2 separate regions of the Homo sapiens genome follow, and region 1 is linked to region 2. The links are contacts of gene promoters, found by promoter capture Hi-C in blood cells and fetal thymus (Javierre and others, 2016). All regions are on one chromosome and are shown on one strand. The core of a region is centred on a gene start or on the middle of the fragment in contact, and the rest is flanking DNA. Distances in the headings are between cores, read along the strand shown. Region 1 has its middle 19 kb from the start of CLDN4. Region 2 holds the start of TMEM270 (transmembrane protein 270).

What was found. The method cuts DNA at HindIII sites, captures the fragments that hold promoters and counts their contacts. A CHiCAGO score of 5 or more calls a contact.
Region 1: a contact is called between a fragment that was not itself captured here and the fragment with the promoter of TMEM270 in region 2, in 1 of 17 cell types (erythroblasts). The highest score is 5.0, in erythroblasts.

Annotation. Positions count from the first base shown.
Region 1 is chr7:73,810,315-73,813,805 of GRCh38, forward strand. No RefSeq gene overlaps it. Among named protein-coding and RNA genes, the nearest start is that of CLDN4, 19 kb to the right of the region's middle. RefSeq lists a silencer at 1,573-1,682. The HindIII fragment of the contact is 4,153 bases long and covers 1-3,491 here.
Region 2 is chr7:73,859,470-73,862,921 of GRCh38, forward strand. It overlaps TMEM270 (transmembrane protein 270), which reads left to right and starts at 1,690. Exons shown (of 3, transcript NM_182504.4): 1 at 1,690-1,797. The coding sequence starts at 1,726. The HindIII fragment of the contact is 5,367 bases long and covers 1,524-3,452 here.

The DNA of each region.
Region 1 (3,491 bases), core at 357-2,856, 49 kb before region 2:
CACCACCATGCCCTGGCTAATTTTTGTATTTTTAACAGAGATGGGTTTTCACCATTTTGGCCAGGCTGGTCTCGAACTCCTGACCTCAAGTGATCCGCCCACCTTGGCCTCCCAAAGTTCTGGGATTACAGGCATTAGCCACCGCGCCTGGCCACATCTGGTTTATATCTTAAGCCCCTCTGCCCACCAGGAGCCCCTTCCCCTGCAGGACTATGCCCCAGGCCCCCTCCACTCCCAGACTCCCCTCTGTAAGCTCCCCTTTCTTCCCTGAGCCCCATTCCTCTCCAAGAGCCCCCTCCCCTATCTGAAGCTCCTCTTCTCCTGGAGACCCTTCCCCTCCCAGTTCCCCCGCACCCCCTCCCTCCACTGCCCCTCCCTCTTAAAGTCCCCTACCCTTCTGTCCTGTCACTTCCCTGCCCTCTCGCTCCCTGGGGTGGGAGGGCCTGGCTTGGCGAGGCGGCTAAGAGAGGGGAAGGGGCTCAGGGTGGGGGCAGGGCATGTCTGGGGTCTGCCAGCTTGTCTTGGCCTGGCTGGCTCTCTATTCCATTATGAACATGTGGCTGGGGTTTCTGCCATCCTCCCAGGCCCTGGTGGGGTGGTTGGGGCTGAGAGGGTGATGGGGAGGGGAGGAGGAAGGGGCCGCAATGCCAATCACATCACCCCAGGGGCTCAGAACAGCTCCCGCCTCTCCTCCTCCTCCCCTTCTTTCTCGCCCCCACCCCCCTCCCCACCTTCCAGAGCCCATTAGCCCAGGGCTGCAGTGACACCTGCCTCCACTGGGGATCCTCCCCTACTCCTGGGGCCATAGCTGCTCCCCCAAGGGTGGGTTACCCTCTTGCCTTTTGACCTTCCCAGGGACCTGGCAGTCCTGCCCCTGGGTGGCCACCTCTTCAGCCTCTCCCAGAGCCTTGGCCACACTTGCTGTGCCGTCCGCAAACACCCAAGGGGGCACCGTGCCCAGTCCAGGAATCAGGCAGCCATCACCTTCCCAGCCAGACCCTGGGAAGGATAGACCCACAGCCTTAGCCATATACAGAGCACTGGGCAACTTTTACTTTTCACCATGATGAGCAACTTGTCAAAAGAATTTGCAAACAGACAGGTGCGGTGGCTCCCGCCTGGGATTATAGGAGGCTGAGGCGAGGGGATCACCTGAGATCAGAAGTTCCAGACCAGCCTGGCCAACATGGTGAAACCCCATCTCTACTAAAAATACAAAAATTAGCCAGGTGTGGTGGCGTGTGCCTGTAATCCCAGCTACTCGGGAGGCTGAGGCAGGAGAATCACTTGCACCCAGGAGGCAGAGGCTGCAGTGAACTGAGAGCTTGCCACTGCACTCCAGCCTGGATGACAGAGCAAGACTCCGTCTCATTAAAAAAAAGAAGAAGAATTTCCAAATCCTACCTCTGGCTCACCATTAAAACAGCCAATTTGGGGGTGTTTGGGGCAGCCGGTTACAATTCTCCCTCTCTACCCCTCCACCTGCCACTAGCACAGGTGCGATTTTCAAAATTCCCATCAACGGGTGTGGGACACCCTGGATGCTGCAGTTCCCACAAGCAAACAGGCGAGGGCGACTCTAGGGAGAGTCACCGCGGCCGTGGGCTGGCCCAGCCTTGAGGAGAGCATTGACACACAGCGTTTGCCAGAACCATGGCCAGGGACGCTGCCTACTTGCTGGAGGTCCCTGCTCCTTCTGGACAGGGATTTATGGTTGGGTGCATTGCTTAGAATAGGAATTAGCTACCATTTGACTGACTTTTTGGTTTTTTGCTTTTTTCCCCATCTACGTCAAGTTCACTGACTTCATTATCTCTATTCTACTTTTGAGCTCATTCAAGGTTTTGTTGTATTATTATTATTATTTTAGAGGGAATCTCACTCTGTCGTCCAGGCTGGAGTGCAGTGGTGCGACCTCAGCTCACTGCAACCTCTGCCTCCCTGGTTCAAGCGATTCTCCTGCTTCAGCCTCCTGAGTAGCTGGGATTACAGGCACCCACCACCACGCCCGGCTAATTTTTGTATTTTTAGTAGAGACGAGGTTTCACCATGTTGGCTAGGCTGATCTTGAACTCCTAACGTCAGGTGATCCACCTGCCTTGGCCTCCAAAGTGCTGGGATTACAGACTTGAGCCACCGTGCCCAGCCTGGCTTTGTTTTATCATTGCGGTTATTATATTGTTCAGTTCTAAACTTTATTTAAATTTTTTTATTTTCATTTATTTATTTATTTTTTATACAGGGTCTTGTTCTGTCACCCAGGCTGGAATGCAGTGGTGCAGTCATGGCTCACTGCAGCCTCCTTCTGGGCTCAAACAATCCTCCCATCTCAGCTTCCCGAGTAGCTGGGACCACAGGCACAAGCCACCATGCCTGGCTAATTTTTAATTTTTTTGTAGATATGGGGTCTTGCTTTGTCACCCAGGCAGGTCTTGAACTGCTGGACTCAAGAGATCTTCCTGCCTTTGCCTCCCAAAGTGCTAGAATTACAGACATGTAAAATTTCTGTTTGGGGCTGGGTGCAGTGGCTCATGCCTGTAGTCCCAGCACTTTGGGAGGCCGAGGCGGGAGGATCTCTTGAGACCAGGAGTTTGAGACCAGCCTGGGCAACATAGCGAGACCTCATTTCTACAAAAAAATAAAATATTGACAGTGTGGTGGCTCATGTCTGTAGTCTTGGCTACTCTGGAGGCTGACGTGAGAGGATCACTTGAACCTGGGAGGTCGAGGCTGTAGTGAACTATGATCATGCCACTGTACTCCAGCCTGGGTGACAGAGGGAGACCCTGTCTCAAAAGAAAACAAAAAATTGTTTGGCTCTTCTTTACATCTTCTCTTCTTTGCAAAGACTTTCTATATTTCCATTGATTTCAAGAGTGTTGGCCTTTCTTGCAACATTTTGATAATAATTGCTTTAAAGTCTTGATCTGATATTTCCAATGTTTTGTCATCTCAACATTGACCACTGTTGATAGTCTTTTCTCCTGTGAGTTGAAATTCTCCCGGCTCTTTGTATGCTGAGTAATTTTGGAGTGTCTCCAAGATATTTTAAATATTAGGATATAGGAATCTGGATCTTTATACAATTCTATGGAGAATGTTGATATTTTTGTTTTAGCAGGCTGTGGTTTTTTTTTTTTTTTTTTTTTTTGGACATGCTGGACCTAGGAACCCTGAATTTCCACTACCTTGCTGTGTCTCCACACCCTTATCACAGCCCTGCGTCATCTCAGGCAGCTCTGACCACCTCCTGAATGTCCATGGCCTGACCAGAAGCCCTTGGAGAACTGCCCTATGGGTTTCTGAGTTCCTCCCTAGCATAAGTGAGTTTGGGGCTCAGTAATGTCTTGGAAACAAACTTGGGTAGACTTGATGCTTGTTATGGTTACACACCCTGGTTACACATTATGCTAAGTGAAAGAAACCAGACACAAAGCCTCTATAATATGTGATTATTGATTCCATGATTCTGGACATTTCATAGACCTATG
Region 2 (3,452 bases), core at 440-2,939:
AACTCAAACCCTGCTCATGAACTCATCTGTCCTTGCCTCTCTTTCTTTTCTTTCTCTTTCTTTTCTTTCCTTCCTTCCTTTTTCTTTCTTTCTTTCTTTTTCTTTCTCTCTTTTTCTTTCTTTTCTTTCTCTTTCTTTCTTTCCTTCTTTTTCTTTCTCTTTCTTTCTTTTTCTTTCTTTCTTCTTTCTTTCTTTCTCTCTCTCTCTCTCTCCCCCTCCCCTCCCCTCCCCTCCCCTTCCCTCTTTTTATCACAGAGTCTCACTCTCTTGCCCAGGCTGGAGTACAGTGGCATGATCTCAGCTCACTGCAACCTCTGCCTTCTGGGTTCAAGCAATTCTCCTGCCTCAGCCTCCTGAGCAGCTGAGATTATAGGTGCACGCCACCATGCCAGGCCAATTTTTTTTTTTTTTTGTATTTTTAGTAGAGACGGGGTTTCACCATGTTGGTCAGGCTGGTCTCTGCTGAGACCAGCTTGGCTGGGGAGACCCTAACCCAGCAGCACTAGAGGAATTAAACACACACACACACACACACACACACACACACACACACAGAGAAATAAAGAGGTGTGAAGTGGGAAATCAGGGGGTCTCACAGCCTTCAGAGCTGAGAGCCTCAAACGGAGATTTACCCACGTATTTATTAACAGCAAGCCAGTCATTAGCATTGTTTCTATAGATATTAGATTAACTATAGATTAGATTAGATTCCCATAGAAGTATCCCTTATGGGAAACAAAGGGATTGGGCCCAAATAAAGGGATGTGTTTGGCTAGTTATCTGCAGCAGGAGCATGTCCTTAAGGCACAGATCACTCATGCTCTTGTTTGTGGTTTAAGAACGCCTTTAAGCAGTTTTCCGCCCTGGGTGGGCCAGGTGTTCCTTGCCCTCATTCCGGTAAACCCACAACCTTCCACCGTGGGTGTCATGGCCATCACGAACATGTCACAGTGCTGCAGAGATTTTGTTTATGGCCAGTTTTGGGGCCAGTTTATGGCCAGATTTTGGGGGCCTGTTCCCAACAGGTCTCAAACTCCTGACCTCGTGATCTGCCTGCCTCGGCCTTCCAAAGTGCTGGGATTACAGGTGTGAGCCACTGTGCCTGGCCCCTTGCCTCACTTTCTGACTTCCTATGGATGCTTGCAGGGCCCACTCCCCAAATAAACTCATCACCCTTCAATTTTTTTTCTTTGTTTAGAGATAGGGTCTTGCTCTGTCACCCAGGCTTGAGTGATCCTGGCTCACTGCAACTTCTATCTCCTGGGCTCAAGCGATTCTCCCACTTTAGACTCCTGAGTAGTTGGGACTACAGGTGTGCATGACCAAGGCTGGTTAATTTTTTTCTTTTTTTGTTTTTTTGTAAGACAGGGTCTTGCTATGTTGCCCATGCTGGTCTCAAACTCCTGGCCTCAAGCGATCCTCCTACCTTGGCCTCCCAAAGCATTGGGAATCCAGGCATGAACCCCGTTCCTAGGCGGCACTTGATTCCTGTTCCAAGATCTGGGGAAATCCGACCCGAAGGAAGCTTTGCTCTAAGACCTCCTTGGCCGTGTTGGGCTCAGACGTGGACTGAGGTTTCAGAGGAAGCAGTGGAGCGGCAGGAGCCAGGTAAAGGCAGTGGGTCACTGGCGGCAACCGGGTCCCCATGGTAACTTGGTCCCCACCCTGTGGCATCTGTGAGGTCACCCTGCTTCTCCCAGCTGGAGTAGGTGGGGGAGGCCAGACATGGAGGCCCTTCCTCCAGTCAGATCCAGCCTTTTGGGGATCCTGTTGCAGGTTACGAGGCTCTCAGTGCTGGTGAGTGGGGGCTGGGGGTAAGTGGGGTGGGGACCACACACCAGGCCCTTCACAGAGCCACCTCAGAGCTGCCGGGCCCAAGCCCTGCCTGTCCCATCCAGTGGAACGAGGTGGCTGCCTGCCTTCCAGAATAATCTGACATCTCCCAGAAGCCCCACTCCAAACTACAGTGCTGACATTTTCTTTTCTTTTCTTTATTTAGAGACAGGGTCTCGCTCTGTCGCCCAGCCTGGAGCGCAGTGGTGCCGGCTCAGCTCGTTGCAGCCTCCAACTCCCGGTCTCAAGCAATCCTCCCCCCTCAGCCTCCAAGTAGCCGGGACTATAGGTGTGCACCACCACGCCTGACTAATTTTTGTATTTTGTAGAGATGGTGTCTCACTACGTTGCCCAGGCGGGTCTCCAACTCTTGGCCTCACATGATCCTCCTACCTCAGCTTCCTGAGGTGCTGGGATTATAGGTGTGAGCCACCGCACCTGGCAGCATTTTCTCTATTGAGGGTCACTCCTATGGGTGAATCATTGTTTTTCCCATTCATTTTTTCTTTTTTTTGAGACAGAGTCTCGCTCTGTTGCCCAGGCTGGAGTGCAGTGGTGCGATCTCGGCTCACTGCAACCTCTGCCTCCTGGGTTCAAGCAGTTCTTCTGCCTCAGCCTCCCAAGTAGCTGGGACTACAGGCACGTGCCATCATCCCTGGCTAATTTTTTTTTTTTTTTGTATTTTTAGTAGAGACCCTGTTAGCCAGGATGGTCTCGATCTCCTGACCTTGTGATCTGCCCGCCTCAGCTCCCCAAAGTGCTGGGATTACAGACATAAGCCACTGCGCCTGGCTCATTCATCTCTCTCTCTTTTTTTTTTTTTCAGATGCAGTCTTGCCCTGTCGCGCAGGCTGCAGTGTAATGGTGCGATCTCGGCTCACTGCAACTTCCACCTCCAGGTTCAAGCAATTCTCCTGCCTCAGCCTTCCAAGTAGCTGGGATTACAGGCGTGCGCCACCACGCCCAGCTAATTTTTTGTATCTTTAGTAGAGACAGGGTTTCACCGCATTGGCCAGGCTGGTCTCAAACTCCTGACCTCGTAATCCACCCACCTCGGCCTCCCAAAGTTCTGGGATTACAGGTGTGAGCCACCGCACCTGGCCCATTCATCTCTTTTAAACATACACATGCTTGTGGTCGGGGTCACAACTCAGTCACACTTAGGAGGCCGAGGTGGGAGTATAGATTGAGCCTGGGAGGCCAAGGCTGCAGTCAGCCAAGATCATATAACAGGGGGCAGTTGAGAAAGACAGACACCATTAGATTTGCATCTTGGGACCGGGAGCTGTGGCTCACACCTGTAATCCCAGCACTTTGGGAGGCCGAGGCGGGCAGATCACCTGAGGTCAGGAGTTCCAGACCAGCCTGACTAACATGAAGAAACCTTGTCTCTACTAAAAATACAAAATTAGCCACGCGTGGTGGTGCATGCCTGTAATCCCAGCTACTCAAGAGGCTGAGGCAGGAGAATCGCTTGAACCTGGGAGGCGGAGGTTGCGGTGAGCCGAGATCCCACCATTGCACTCCAGCCTGGGCAACCCTGGGCAACAAGAGCAAAACCCTGTCTCAGAAAAAAAAAAAAAAAAAAAAAAAAAAAGATTTGCATCTTGGCTGTTTTA